2 separate regions of the Homo sapiens genome follow, and region 1 is linked to region 2. The links are contacts of gene promoters, found by promoter capture Hi-C in blood cells and fetal thymus (Javierre and others, 2016). All regions are on one chromosome and are shown on one strand. Each heading gives the region's core, a stretch centred on a gene start or on the middle of the fragment in contact. The rest is flanking DNA. Distances are from core to core; before and after follow the strand shown.

Region 1 (2,746 bases), core at 9-2,508, 270 kb after region 2:
AGAGCCACAGGGAGATTCCAGAACAGCGCCAGGGGCTCCTTCTCAGGGTCTCAGGAAGGGTTGACACATGGCACCGTGCACAAGTCATCAGCCAGGTGCTGGGGATAAAATGACAGGTATGACTGTCAGACATGGTCCCTTCCCCTCGCAGCCTGGAAGTTGCAGAGGAGAGGGATTAGCAAAGGCAGAGAGACCCCAGAGACAGCTGCTGGGAGCAAGGCGGCCGGGGCCCTGGGGAGGGGACAGAAGAGGCCCAACGTGAGGGAGGGGCACAACCGAGGGACGATTCCTGCCACCTGGCCAGGGTGGTGAGGAAGGCACAGCCCTATGGAGCTGGATGCCGCAGTCTCAGTGGGAGCCACTGTGGCAGCTGAGAGCAGCTTGTTCCAAATTACTGTGTGAGACTGTCATCTCTAGGTCTGTCAGAGGCCCATGACCAAAGAGGCAACTTAAAATGCATGCATTTAGTAGAGAAATGACCAGGCCCTCGGCCTGCCCGCCACAGAATGCCTGGCCCTCCACCCTCTGTGGGCTCAAAGCTCGTGAATGCGGCTCTGTAGCCCACCGTCGGTGTCATACCTCTCATGGAGACGGCTCCCTCTTTGTCTTGCAGGGGATGAGCTGACCAAGATGGAGGACGAGGATGAGCAGGGCTGGTGCAAGGGACGCTTGGACAACGGGCAAGTTGGCCTATACCCGGCAAATTATGTGGAGGCGATCCAGTGATGAGTCGGGGACAGGCCAGCGGGGGGACGGAGGCGGCGGGCCCAGGAGCCTCAGCCAGCCACGTGGGCATCCACTCCTTTTCCTGCAAGAGATGATGGTTCCATTGCTCTTGGCTTCATGGTGTTCCTGGAAGGCAGATGAGCTGGTCATTTCGCCTGGGACTCGGCACCTTTCCGAGTGCAGCTGGAGGGATCTGAGCGCAGGAAGACGCAGAACAACAGAAATAGCCGCCCCTCCCCGCCCACTGTGCCTGTTGGCCTATCATAGATCTCTATGTTCTTGACTTTGTCTCTCCTTTCCGAGTCAATGGTGGGTTACACTGATCTTGTTCCACTGATTACTCTCTCTGACGAGTCCATCACCTGCAACTTAAATGAACAAGCTTACATCCCATTTTGAGTGAAGATTTTGAGGTTTTTAATTTAAAGGCTGTGTACAGTTATACTTTTTTATACACCTGTTCATTTCTACTTAAATTATGGCACAGATTGATGCGCACCAGTCTTGAGGAAACGATCTCCCTATTCCCTTACCCTGTTACTCAGCCACGCCGTGTGTAGGCTTAGCCTCAGGTGGCAGATGTTTGAGGAAAGGAATTATGCCAGGAAGGTGGGACCGGGTTATGGTCGGGTTTCTATTGGGAATGCTCTTTGTGCTTTTGGGCATCTGAATGGAAGCTTTACATAGAACCTTAGGTAGAACTCCCCCAAATCGCCATATTTAAAAATTATTTTCACTCTATTCTTGCTTAAAACTGTACTCTTTTGCAAATTAACAATTTTATCACTGATTCAGAGTTAAAAAGAAGACTAACTTTTCAAGCAAATGCATCTGTAAAGATGCTTTAGATTAGACTGTCATGTCTCAGTGTCTATCTGTATATATTATTTGATATTCAGAGAATCTAAAGCACTCGTCTACTGTTTTAATGAGATTTAACAGCTTTTAACAGTGAGTTTCGTTTGTAAACTGCTTGAAGTCTGTGGCATTCAGGCACACGTCTGGCTGGCCGGCTGGGTCTCCTCCCGGGCTCAGTGGGCCTGGGGCCTCTCTGACGTGGTGCCTGCTGGAGGGAGGCTCGTCGTCACCAGCTGACTGCTGGTCCGGCTTCTGACCGGCCTTTGTCCTGGCTCCGTAGCAGAACACTGTAAAAGTGCCCGCGTCTTTGCAGTAGTTGCAGATTTCAGTCGTCGTGTTACTTGTGCACAAACAGAAGCTGGGTCTTACCCGCAGCACGAGTGTCTCGGGCTGCCCGGAGTCGCCCGGGAGCAGGTGCTGCAGCCAGAGTTACGCGGGGGCCACGCGGGCCGGCGGGGGTGGGGGGAACGTGGGGGAACCTGTGTTTCACGTGACTCAGCAGTGCCCGCCGCCGTCACCAGCTATGCATTCACTCCGTTTCCAGTGAGCAGATGTCTTGCTTGGAAAGTGGACCTGTGTCTGTGTCTGTCCTGAGAACTTACCAGCAGAAATCCTCATTTCTGTGCTACGGATTTACCAAAAATTGTCAAGTCTTTTTCAGTTTAACAGTTCCTTTACATGTGTAGTATTTGAGGAAAAAAATCAATAAACAGTTGATCTCGTGCATATGGAAGTCCCTTCGCCATCATCTGTCTTCATGCCCACTTCACTTGGCGGGGGTGGCCTCCCTGGGGCTTACTAGCTTTGGAGCTGGGCAAGATCCAGGGCACAGGACCCCTGCCCAAAAGGCCACGGCCCACTGCCCCTGCCAAACTGGAGGTTGGGGATTTGAGGCACCTGAGCCCCTTGGGGTTCCCTTCTCCCCGAGACCTGCTGCTGTTTGACCTGGGCTTCCACATGGTGCGGGCATCGGCTGGCGCCTCTCTATTGCCCCAGCCCAAACAGCAGGACAAGACTGACATCACCCATAACTCTCCTATGAGCACATTTTCCTGAGCACCTACTGTGTGCTCTCCACTTTTTACTTACATTATCTGCGTCTCCAAACATCTCCACAGGGTATGGGCAAGTCTCCCCATTTCCATTCTACCGAGGAGGAAAC
Region 2 (2,971 bases), core at 1-2,500:
TTTTTTTTTGAAACGGAGTCTTGCTCTGTCACCCAGGCTGGAGTGCAGTGGTGGGATCTCGGCTCACTGCAACCTCTGCTGCCCGGGCTTAGGGGATTCTCCTGCCTCAGCCTCCCGAGTAGCTGGAACTATAAGCGCCCACCACCACGCCCAGCTAATTTTTGTATTTTTAGTAGAGACGGGGTTTCTCCATGTTGGCCAGGCTGGTCTTGAACTCCTGACCTCAAGTGATCCATCTGCCTCAGCCTCCCAAAGTACTGGGATTACAGGCATGAGCCACTGCGCCTGGCCGAGCCTGTGTCTCTTGAGTTGCTTTTAGGTTAACATTAGATAACCCCAATTTCCAACCTCCATTCTGTCACTAACCACCTGTCACTCAATCTCTGAGCAGCTATCCATCACAGCGTTGCTGTGAGGAATTAAATAAGCTAATATCTGAAACACATTCAAGGCTTTGTTCAATAGCATAAAGATCTATTGGATGCTTATTATGTGCCAAGCACTGTGTGGTTTGTAAGAAAACATTATAAAAGAGAGCTGTTGTATAGTTGGGAACTGGCAACGGATGGTCGGCCATGCCAACTCCTGTGGTTGGGAGGATCATATGCAAGAAATGTGGTTGCTGGCCGGGCGCGGTGGCTCACGCCTGTAATCCCAGCACTTTGGGAGGCCGAGGCGGGTGGATCACCTGAGGTCAGGAGTTCGACACCAGCGTGGCCAACATGGTGAACCCGTCCCTACTAAAAATACAAAAATTAGTCAGGCATGGTGGCGGGCGCCTGTTAATCCCAGCTACTCGGGAAGCTGAAGCAGGAGAATCGCTTGAACCTGGGAGGCGGCGGTTGCAGTGAGCAAAGAACACGCCACTGCACTCCAGCCTGGGCGACAGAGCAAGACTCCGTCTCAAAAAACAACAACAAACAACAACAACGACAACAACAAAAACCATCAATGTGGAAGAGTTTCAAGTGCTCTTCATGTGCCAGGTAGAAAGCGTAAATACTACATTGCGTTGCGTTATTTATTCCATAAATATCTGTTGAGGACCCACTGTGGTGTGGCATCGTGTTCCGTTCAACGGCTATGGCTGTTTAAGTAAACGCATGAGTCCCTCCAGGACCCCAGAACGCAGCCCGAAGGGCCTCAGAGCCGGGGCGGAACCAGCGTCTGCGGAACCTTTCTTCCCGCTCCCGGTGCCCCGGAAGCCCCGGCAGGAAATGCGTCAGGGACCACGCTGCGCCGCGCCGCCGCAGTCGGGCCTCGGTCGCCACGGTAACGCGCGCGGGCAGGTGTCCGACCATGAGCGTCCGGGTCGCACGGGTAGCGTGGGTCAGGGGCTTGGGCGCCAGCTACCGCCGCGGCGCCTCGAGCTTCCCGGTGCCTCCGCCGGGCGCCCAGGGTGTAGCGGAGCTGCTGCGAGATGCGACCGGGGCGGAGGAGGAGGCGCCCTGGGCGGCGACGGAGCGGCGAATGCCGGGCCAGTGCTCCGTGCTGCTCTTCCCGGGCCAGGGCAGCCAGGTGGTGGGCATGGGCCGCGGTCTGCTCAACTACCCGCGCGTCCGCGAACTCTACGCCGCCGCCCGCCGCGTGCTGGGCTACGACCTGCTGGAACTGAGCCTGCACGGGCCGCAGGAGACCCTGGACCGCACCGTGCACTGTCAGCCCGCGATCTTCGTGGCATCGCTGGCCGCTGTCGAGAAACTACATCACCTGCAGCCCTCGGTGAGGCCCGAGGCCCCGTGACAGGAGGGGGAAGGTGAGCTCTGCCTGAGCTCTTGGCCCTGCCAGAGGCTTCCGCCTGCCATTCCGGGGGCTCCCACGTCTTACTCATTCGATCGAGTTTTTTTTTTTGTTTGTTTTTGTTTTTTTTTTTGAGACGGAGTCTCGCTCTGTCGCCCAGGCTAGAGTGCAGTGGCGCGATCTCGGCTCCGCCTCCCGAGTTCACGCCATTCTCCTGCCTCAGCCTCCCAAGTAGCTGGGACTACAGGCGCCCGCCACCATGCCCGGCTAATTTTTTGTATTTTTAGTAGAGACGGGGTTTCATCGTGTTAGTCAGGATGGTCTTGATCTCCTGACCTCGTGATCTGCCCGCCTCGGCCTCCCAAAGTGCTGGGATTACAGGCATGAGCCACCGTGCCCGGCCCGTTTTGTTTTGTTTTTTGAGACAGAGTCTTGCTCTGTCACCCAGGCTGGAGTGCAATGGCGCAGTCTTGGCTCACTGCAACCTCTGCCTCCCAGGTTCAAGCAGTTCTCCTGCCTCAGCCTCCGCAGTAGCTGGGATCACAGGTGCACACCACCACGCCCGGCTAATTTTTTTATTCTTTACTTAAATCCTCCCAGGTTCACCCACCTCGGCCTCCCAAAGTGCTAGGATTACAGGTATGAGCCACTGCACTGGCCTAAATGAAGGAACATTGAGATGAGTTGAGAATGTCACTTCACTTGAAGGTGGTGGATTGATTGCTATTAATATTTAATAAGACGGTAAATGTTAAGCTAGCACTTGAGATCCTTTACCCTATTTCACCTTCACACCACCTTGTGAGGTTAATACTGTTATTTGATGGTTGAGGAATGCAGACTCAGGGATATTAAAAGAATTAGTTAAGTGGTCCTGTTGAATCGTCATCATAATATTCATTCACTGCTTACCCTAGTCTGGGTCTGTGCTAAGCACTGTATAGACATTATATTCACATAATTCTCTCATCCGCCCTTTGGGGTAGGCCCTGTTCTTCCCTCATTTCACAGATGAGATAAAAATGCTCTTGGCCGGGCGAGGTGGCTCACGCCTATAATGCCTATAATCCAGCACTTCAGGAGGCTGAGGTGGGTGCATCACGAGGTCAGGAGTTCAAAACCAGCCTGGCCAACATGGTGAAACCCCGTCTCTACTAAAAATACAAAAATTAGCCAAGTGTGGTGGTGGACACCTGTAATCCCAGCAACTCGGGAGGCTGAGGCAGGAGAA

Evidence for each region. Contacts are between HindIII fragments. The CHiCAGO score rates a contact against its expected background, and 5 or more counts as called.
Region 1: a contact is called between a fragment that was not itself captured here and the fragment with the promoter of MCAT in region 2, in 2 of 17 cell types (total B cells and naive CD8 T cells). The highest score is 6.5, in total B cells.

What each region holds. Positions count from the first base shown.
Region 1 is chr22:42,869,337-42,872,082 of GRCh38, reverse strand. PACSIN2 (protein kinase C and casein kinase substrate in neurons 2) reads left to right here. Exons shown (of 11, transcript NM_001184970.3): 11 at 614-2,310. The coding sequence ends at 726. LOC101927393 (a long non-coding RNA gene) reads right to left here and starts at 669. Exons shown (of 3, transcript XR_001755575.2): 1 at 580-669; 2 at 1-98. The HindIII fragment of the contact is 295 bases long and covers 1,111-1,405 here.
Region 2 is chr22:43,141,677-43,144,647 of GRCh38, reverse strand. It overlaps MCAT (malonyl-CoA-acyl carrier protein transacylase), which reads left to right and starts at 1,250. Exons shown (of 4, transcript NM_173467.5): 1 at 1,250-1,722. The coding sequence starts at 1,300. RefSeq lists a silencer at 1,226-1,495. The HindIII fragment of the contact is 11,018 bases long and covers 1-2,971 here.